3 separate regions of the Homo sapiens genome follow, and all the other regions are linked to region 1. Evidence: promoter capture Hi-C in 16 types of primary human blood cells and fetal thymus (Javierre and others, 2016). All regions are on one chromosome and are shown on one strand. The core of a region is centred on a gene start or on the middle of the fragment in contact, and the rest is flanking DNA. Distances in the headings are between cores, read along the strand shown.

Region 1 (2,724 bases), core at 71-2,570:
GATTATACGAATAACTGTGAAGTACTTAGAATAGTGCCTGGCACAAAGTAAGCACTATGTGTTTTTTTCATGCAAGTAATTTGGCCGGGTGCACTGGCTCATGCCTGTAATCTCACCACTCTGGGAGGCCAAGATGTGAGGATCATCTGAGGTCAAAAGTTCGAGACCAGCCTGGCCAACATGGTGAAACCCTGTCTCTACTAAAAATACAAAAATTAGCCGGATGTGGTGGCGGGTGCCTGTAATCCCAGCTACTCGGGAGGCTGAGACAGAAGAATCGCTTGAACCCGGGAGGCGGAGGTTGCAGTGAGCAGAGATTGCGCCACTGCACTCCAACCTGGTGACAGAGATGCCGTCTAAAAAAAAAAAATGCAAGGATTACTGTGAAATCCGTATGTTAATGTAAAATATTACTTGTGCGTTTAGAAGACAAAGTGATTCCTTTTTCCAGAAAAGGCAAAACGGCCCAAGGGAGCGTGAGAGCCGTGGATCTGACCAACCTGGTTTAGTGTCCTGTGCCGTCTCCCAGCTGCAGGACCTGAGAAAACGTACTTGAAAACTCGTCAAGCTTCGGCTTCCTGACCACACAAGGTCACACCTTCTCAGAAGTTGCGGGGAGGCTCACACATCACTACCGCGCCGGGCACACAGCAGGCGCCGGCTCCAGCCCTCCTGCTCCCGCCCGCGGAGCCTCCAGCGCTCAGTCGAGGTCACAGCGAGCTGAACTGAACCCAAGGCCCGCACCAAACCCACAGGCACTTGGGGGCGGAGCACCCGCAGGCGCGGCTCCCGGCGCGCGGCCCAGTTTCCTCCACATGCAGATGAAAATCACGACCCAAACGTCCTCATGGTGGAAATCAGAAGACGCGCAGGGAAAACAGGGACGCGGAAACTGCCGGGAAGCGCAGGGGCTGACAAGCAGCCTGGCCCAGGCCGTCCCACGAGCGCTCTCCCGCGGGAGTAGCGTTTCCGAGGCCGCCAGCGAGTCAGAGGAAGGCAGGGCGCATCCGCCCTCCAGCAAGAACGCGATGCACTCGGGCGCGACGACGGTCCAGGCAGTTCCCAGGAGGCTGGGATACCAGCCCGGCCGCCCCTCCTTCCCCGCGGCTCCCCGCCCCGCCTCCGGCCCTGAGTGGCGAGTGGCTCGGCCAGAACCCGGACGTCCTCACCTGAGCGGGGCCCACAGCATAGCACCTGCGGGCGGGGCGGCCCTGGAGCCCCGCAGCCGCGCGCGCCGCCCGCCAGCAAAGCCCACGCGCCGCGCCGAGCGCAGCCACACAGCCCCACGCAGCCATCCGGCCGTCGCCGTGCGCACGTGCACGGCGTGCGGCCCCCCCCCCCCGCGAGTCCGTCCGCTGCACAGCCAATCAGCGGTCGGCGCGCGCGGCATCACGGGAGTTGTAGTCCTGTAAGCGCGCGGAGCCCGTCGGGCGCCTATGGAACTCGACCCGCAGGCCAAAGGGGCTCCGTTGCAAGGAAGAAGTGCGGGGTCCCGCCGCCTCCTAGACCGAGATCGCGGTGAGCTGGCCGCGGCGCACAATGGGCACGGCCTGGGCGGCGGCGTCCGTACTATCGCCCTGTGCCTGCGGATCCCGGTAACATTGCGCGGCAGGCCCCAGGCCGGCCTCCCTCAGCTTCGCGGACTGTCTGGGCCGGGGGTCTCAACCTTGACTTCAGGGCCGGGCCGCTGGGGCAGACCCTTAGTGATGTTCAGGTCCTCTGGGCCCCTGCCAGTCAAGGGACGCTCGTCGCGCGCCAATTGTTAAGTCTTTCATTGTTTCTGTAAACCTGCTGACGCCCTCCCAGCGCATAGGGAGACTGCGCACGTGAGTCCGCCCCCGCGCGCACTGCGGAGAGGTAGAGGCACGAATGTAGTACAAGGTACAAAATGACTACTCCAGAGAGGGCCAGATGACTAAGTCAGCAAACACTTAGGGAACACGACTGTGTCCGCTGCGCGTTTCCCGGAGTAGACACAAGGGTGAATGAACAAAGAATGGATTTCGGTCACTGAAAGTGGAGAGGTAGCCGACTCCGTCCGTGGAGGCCCTTAGCAGAGCTGGATCTGGTAGTCCCCCGGTCATGAGGGGAGATTCTGCTGGAGGAAAGAGGTCTCCATTCCCACCGTTTGAAATGTGTAGGATGCCCTCAGATTCTTTGGCCCATTCATAGGTATAGCTATGCTAAAAACGCGGGACCCTACAATGTACTTAGCACTAGCAGAGAGGGAGTCGAGGATATGGACAGAGACTGCACTAGCTCACACATTAGCAGGCCAGGGTGCGGTGGCTCACCCCTGTAATCCCAGAACTTTGGAAGGTCAAGGTGGGAGGAAAACTTGAGTCCAGGAGTTCCAGACCAGCCTGGGCAACATAGGGAGACCCCTTCTCTATTTTAAAAATAATAAAATAGGGCCGGGTGCGGTGGCTCACACCTGTAATCCCAGCACTTTGGGAGACTGAGGCGAGTGGATCAGGAGGTCAGGGGTTCAAGACCACCTAGCCAAGATGGTGAAACCCCGTCTCTGCTGAAAACTGCAAAAATTAGCCAGGCGCGGTGGCAGGCGCCTCAAGTCCCAGCTACTCGGGAGGCTGAGGCAGGAGAATCGCTTGAACCCAGGCAGCAGAAGTTGCAGTGAGCCGAGATTGCGCCAATGCACTCCAGCCTGGGTGACGGAGTGAGACTCCGTCTTGAAAAAAAAAAAAATAATAATAATAATAATAA
Region 2 (2,738 bases), core at 99-2,598, 570 kb after region 1:
AGGCTTGTCCTGGGGGAGTGAGCCGTGAACCTGGAGACATGGCTTTGACCCACAGCTACTGTTCATTTCCTCAGGCTTTGCGCTGATTCCCTCAATAATATGACAGTAAGGCAAGTAGTCTCCTTGCCTTTCTCCTGAAAGGTATGAGATGTGGACATTTCAGTGTTTGAATTATTTTAAGAGATGTTTTATAGAAATAAAACGTTTTGTAGCTAAGAATTTTCCCTTTCTCTTAATTTCTTACATCTTTCCACACAAACTTATCTTTCCAAGAATTTGAGGTGGTGATCATACCCATCAAGACGGCCTTGTAGGCTATCTGATTGCTAACAGACACGACCTAGAGCTTCTGCCCAAATTCCCACACAAGCATTATCTCGTTTAACATCTCAGCGACATACTGGATACCAGAATAATGTTTCCTCTTCTCTGGTGCACCAAAACCTGCCCTTAGTGATAATCTCTCAATTATGACATTCATTTGAGTTTAGGGTGTATAATTTTTCCTAAAAAAAATTCATGTCGATAATTATATTTTAGCAAATACTAGTTGAGCATTTATAACATGCCAGAGACGGTTCTAGTGCTCTCACATACCTTATTTCACCTTCACAGTTCTAATAGCTGTTTGTATTCCTTTTATTCCCATATTACAGAATGAAGAACCTAATCAGAGTTTGTTAGTTTTTCTTTTTCCTTTTTTTTTTTTTTTTTTTTTTTTGAGACAGAGCCTTGCTCTGTCGCCCAGGCTGGAGTGCAGTGGCACAATCTCGGCTCACTGCAAGCTCCGCTTCCCGGGCTCACGCCATTCTCCTGCCTCAGCCTCCCAAGTAGCTGGGACTACAGGCGCCCGCCACCATACCCGGCTGCTTTTTTTGTATTTTTAGTAGAGACAGGGTCTCTACTATGTTAGCCAGGATGGGCTCGATCTCCTGACCTCGTGATCCACCCGCCTTGGCCTCCCAAAGTGCTGGGATTACAGGCGTGAGCCACCGTGCCCGGCCCAGAGTTAGTTTTTCTAACGTCCTCAAGCATAGGCGAGGCAAGGCAATGATTTTGCCGGTTTTTATCATTTTCCTGGCACTGCAAAGCAGTATTGGCAGGTCCCCTGCAAACAGTTGCGCCAGTTGTTTACTGCATAAGGACTGACTGGGGACAAATTCCGACGTGCAGCCTGTGCTCTGCTCACCATGCTGTGGGCTCTGGGAGAAGCGAAGTATTTTTCTAATTTGTACAAAGGCACCATATAGGCTCACTTAAACATTAAGCATGTTCTACTACAAAAAAACAAGAGTGAGGGTTAGGTCCAGGACTGGTCTCAGCTTCCAATTATGTAGCTGTTTTCCCTGTAGACATTGAGTGAGATGCTTTGTGGTTACAGAATTCACAGTCATTGCCGATGAGCTTTCATTAGCTTTCTTGATTAAATATTTTTGCTTGTAGACAAGGTTAGGCAATCTGTCCCAGCAGTTATCACAAAGTGCTAAATGAGGGGGGTGAAGACAGCACCACGATGCATTTCTTGGTCTTTTTCTGTTTGTTCGAGTTCGTCCCTTCTCCCCTGTGTATGCCATCATAAGGGTGGGGCTGTGGAGTGAAGTAGGGGAATACCTGGAAGCATTGCTTGGCCTCTGGACAGACAAAGAGGTTGGGGACTTAGGAGGGTTGACCAGGTATGGCCACAAGTACGTCAGCTCCTGGAGGATCTTCCCAGTGAAAAGCCTCCTACTACATTCCACAGCACTTCATGGTAATTATAACCTTGGCTAGATAATACCTGCTGTATGGTACAGAATAGTGACATTCAATTACCTCATATATAAAGAGAGCTCCATGGAGAGCTGGAAAGTGCATGCCACTACAATATTAACACATCCCATCTTCCCTTTCTTTTTGCAAGGCTGTTGAATTTCAGCCCGGCATCCCCACACACTAACACCATCAGGTCTTCCACATTTGATGGTTACACCACAGGAGCCCACACCAGACTGCTGCTTCCCTGTGAGCTCAGAGTGAAATTGTTCTCAGGGGTATTTGCAAGGCCTTGTCATCAGTTAAAGACTAGCAGCTGACTCCAGGTGATTCTACCCCGCTGTCACCTCTCCAAAGGGGAAATTGAATAGTGGTATTGCTCACTGTGGTGAGTGTTCTTTGCACCACCAGAAGAAACTGGTTAATGAATGTACTATTTAGAAGAAAAGTTTTGACATTTAAAGATTACTAGTTGTTCCCTTTCCCCAGGAAAAGAAGGTCAAAGTACAGTCTTCCCTGTTGCAGAGTTTGGAATAACTCTGTTTGCCCTGATGCTTTCCAGCAGGAGAACTGTATTATGTAGAGGGGTCCTTGGCCAGCATCAAAGGAAAAAAATTATTTTTTTCCTAGACCTGTATTTTTCCTATTACAGTCTTCCATTTATTTCTTCCTCCAGATTAAAAGTGCCTCTTCCTACCTCATTCCTTAATTAAGGTCAATTTAGTGTTGGCTCAAATGCTTTCATCTCAAAAATACCGGAATTGAATGGTAATTTGGATAATTAAGTTATCGTGCATTTTAAGCAGCATGTGTTTCCTTTTTCCGTGTGAGTTCCATGAGCCTCTGCACTGCCGCTCTGCACTGCTGAACTGATCACTGTGGGTCATTCTGGCTCCTCTTCCTTCCTGTCATCTACCTTTTGGCCAATCTACTCTTCATCAGGGGAAAGGAACAAACTTCAAATCTGTGAGTTATTCTTTCTGTCA
Region 3 (3,129 bases), core at 1-2,500, 610 kb after region 1:
GGCCTTTCTGAATTACAACTTCAGCCCCAGGGCAAGAGTAAACACAGAAACTGGAAAAGTCCCTGGACCAGGTGTCAAAGAGGTATCCTTCCCGGTGGACACAAAATTCTGAATTGAATTGAGCTCAAAAGAGGCTAAGGACACAGAGAACGAAGTCTGATCATCCAGATTCTCCGTATCTGACCACAGAGAACTGATCTCTGTCATCCGCCTACAAAGATGAGCAAAACAATATGACCACAAACCAATGCTCAATCACTGATGCCACCAAGCCATGGGTAAGCCCGAAACCAACAGAACACAGAGTCAGGGGCAGGGGAAACAGAGACACGGAGAGAAAACGGAGAAACAGCGTCCGCGAAGTGAAAAGTTCCATTGCTGCTTGAATTTGCCTCTGGTAGCCAAGAAAAGGCCAGCACTGTGGGAGGCCAAGGCAGGAGGATCACTTGAGCCCAGGAGTTTGAGGCAAACCTGGGCAACACAGTGAGACCCTGTCTCTACAAAAAATACAAAATAAAAAATGAAGGAAACATTGACACCTACTGTAACATGAGTTACAGCAGTTAACATGAGTTGAAAATATGCTACATGAAAGAAGTCAGTCACAAAAGACCACGTAGTGTGTGATTCCATTAGTATGAAATGTCCTAAATGTGCAACTCCATAGACAGAAAGATTAGGGCTGCCAGGGCTGCGGAGCAGCCACCAGTGTGTCTGGAGCTTCTCTTTGGGTTACTGAAATGTTCTGCCTGTAGGCGGTGGTGACGGTCGCACACCGTGTATATACTAAGCCACTGAACTGTGCCCTTTGATGGGTGAATTTTATGGCATGTGCAGTATGTCTCAATCAAACGGTTTTTGAAAAGGCAGCCAGCAGGAGGAGACATGAGGAGGCAAGAGCCTCTTCAGGTGACTGGGGCCCCCTCCCAGAGGTCGGAGGCTCCACCACAGGCCCCAGAAGTCAGTGGACCCCTATGCTCCAGGTCTTTGTGACCCGGGAGTCCTGCCTCCCTCCCCTGCCCAGGCCCTGGGCTTCTGGGTGGGGCATGGTGGATGGCAGGGGAAGGCAGGTGTCCCTCAGCTACTCCAGAATCCCTGGTGAGCCTCTGGTGAGCCTCCTGGTCCGCCCCTCCCTGAACTCTCTGTAGACTCTGTCATAAAGAACAAGGCTGGGCCGCAAGGTGGCTCACGCCTGTAATCCCAGCACTTTGGGAGGCCGAGGCGGGTGGATCACGAGGTCAGGAGATCGAGACCATCCTGGCTAACACGGTGAAACCCCTTCTCTACTAAAAATAGAAAAAATTAGCCGGCATGGTGGTGGGCACCTGTAGTCCCAGCTACTCGGGAAGCTGAGGCAGGAGAATGGCGTGAAACTCGGGAGGCAGAGCTTGCAGTGAGCCGAGATCGCGCCACTGCACTCTAGCCTGGGCGACAGAGCGAGACTCCGTCTCAAAAAAAAAAAAAAAAAAAATTAGCCGGGCGTGGTGGTGGGCGCCTGTAGTCCCAGCTACTCAGGAGGCTGAGACAGGAGAATGGCGTGAACCTGGGAGGCGGAGCTTGCAGGGAGCAGAGATCGTGCCACTGCACTCCAGCCTGGGCGACAGAGTGAGACTCGTCTCAAAAATAAATAAATAAATAAATAAATAAATAAATAATAACTAAATAAATAAAGAACAAGGCTTTCACCACATCCCAGGCAGAGTCCAAGTCAGGGCAGAGCCTCACAGAGCACAGCAGGGCCTGTGCCGTGCCAACGCCATGCCCCTGCCTGGCAGAAATGCCACCCAGCCCCTGGCAGAAACGCCTCCCCTCTCCTATGGAGGGGCTGATGACCCAGGAGCGGCTGGCTGCTGGTGTGAGTACACGGGTGACCCTTCCACAAAGGCCCCTAGCTGGGCTCCCTGCTCAGTTGGCCGGGTTTGGGGCTGGATGTCTGCAGGGGTCCTCAGGGATACCCAGAGGGAGAAACAAGGCTTTTGGGGAAATGGTGACACCTGGGGCCAGGTTTCTCACAGCCAGGCCCCATCTCTCCCTGCCTGGATTTCAGGGGAAGTGGGGCTTGGGTAAACAGGAACGGACGTGGCCATCAGGCCGGAAGGGTGTGTGGGCCACAGAGAAGCACCCTGAGGCTGTGCTGTCATCCAGAGTGCCACCCCGCTTTTCCAGGGCACAGCAAGGAAGTGCCTGCTGGAAGGATCCTGGGGACAGTTGTTAAGGCAATTTTATCTTCTCATAGCATGCCTGCCTCAGTTCCGCAGCCAGGACGGTGCCTTACTGACTCCACACACAGAGGCAGCTGGGTCCAGGAGGCAGCCATCCCAAACGCAGTGACCTCCAGCACCCAAAGCTCAGAGTTCCCAGCTGAACCCAGGAGGCACCCACCTTCCTGTCTCTAGGCAGATGCCAGCTGGTGCAGGAGCCACTCCCAGTCCCAATACCAGGCCTGGTCACGTGGTGCCCCGCCAGGCTTGGGGGTGTGCACTTGCCCGCTGGCCTCCGGTGCCCTCAGGCCTAGCCTCATTGTCACAGGAACGGAGCTCCTCGGGGATGGCCACCTTCCTGGACTTACCCCCAGGAGGGACACGCTGCTGCCTCCCAGGGCCCTTCGTGCCACTGGCCCCTTTCTTTCCACCCCCATATGCTACCCCTGCCTACTCCCTTCCCTGGCCCTGGGTTGCCACTCCTGTCCTGTTCTCCTGCTGTCCCCACCCCAGCCCTGACCCCAGATGGCTCTCCCTACAAAAACACCAGAACCCCAGAGAAGCTCAATCCCCCAAGTCCATCTGCATTTTAAGAAGCCCTCACGCACTCCCAGCCCAGAGAGGGAAGCTGTAAAGGTGGACAGGTCATGTCGGGCTTTGAACCTGCAATGTGATCTCACCTTCCCCGTCTGTAAAAGGGGACACTCCCTGCCTTGTGGGATCACATGCAGTATCAGAAAAAGCACCTGACATGTGACATCCACTTACAAAGGGTTTTCCCTTCTCTTTGGTTTTGGGGGAGAATGGGAGAGGCCCAAGCAGAAGCTCCTGGAACACCGCCCATCCCGGACCCAGGGTTGTAGTCACCTGAACACTCACCCAGACAAGGGAAACTTCACAGAATGAATGTGAGGAATAAAATGAGACA

Evidence for each region. Contacts are between HindIII fragments. The CHiCAGO score rates a contact against its expected background, and 5 or more counts as called.
Region 2: a contact is called between a fragment that was not itself captured here and the fragment with the promoter of HDHD5 in region 1, in 1 of 17 cell types (neutrophils). The highest score is 7.1, in neutrophils.
Region 3: a fragment that was not itself captured here is called in contact with the fragment with the promoter of HDHD5 in region 1 in 1 of 17 cell types (neutrophils); the score reaches 5.2 in neutrophils.

The regions. Positions count from the first base shown.
Region 1 is chr22:17,157,957-17,160,680 of GRCh38, forward strand. HDHD5 (haloacid dehalogenase like hydrolase domain containing 5) reads right to left here and starts at 1,321. Exons shown (of 8, transcript NM_033070.3): 1 at 1,170-1,321. The coding sequence starts at 1,295. HDHD5-AS1 (HDHD5 antisense RNA 1) reads left to right here and starts at 1,433. Exons shown (of 2, transcript NR_024483.1): 1 at 1,433-1,881. RefSeq lists a silencer at 1,003-1,332. The HindIII fragment of the contact is 6,885 bases long and covers 567-2,724 here.
Region 2 is chr22:17,730,404-17,733,141 of GRCh38, forward strand. BCL2L13 (BCL2 like 13) reads left to right here. Exons shown (of 7, transcript NM_015367.4): 7 at 1-452. Among named protein-coding and RNA genes, the nearest start is that of MIR3198-1, 32 kb to the right of the region's middle. The HindIII fragment of the contact is 3,564 bases long and covers 1-2,738 here.
Region 3 is chr22:17,767,422-17,770,550 of GRCh38, forward strand. All of the region lies in intron 1 of BID (BH3 interacting domain death agonist), which reads right to left. Among named protein-coding and RNA genes, the nearest start is that of MIR3198-1, 4.7 kb to the left of the region's middle. RefSeq lists enhancers at 903-952, 973-1,022, 1,093-1,152. The HindIII fragment of the contact is 6,348 bases long and covers 1-3,129 here.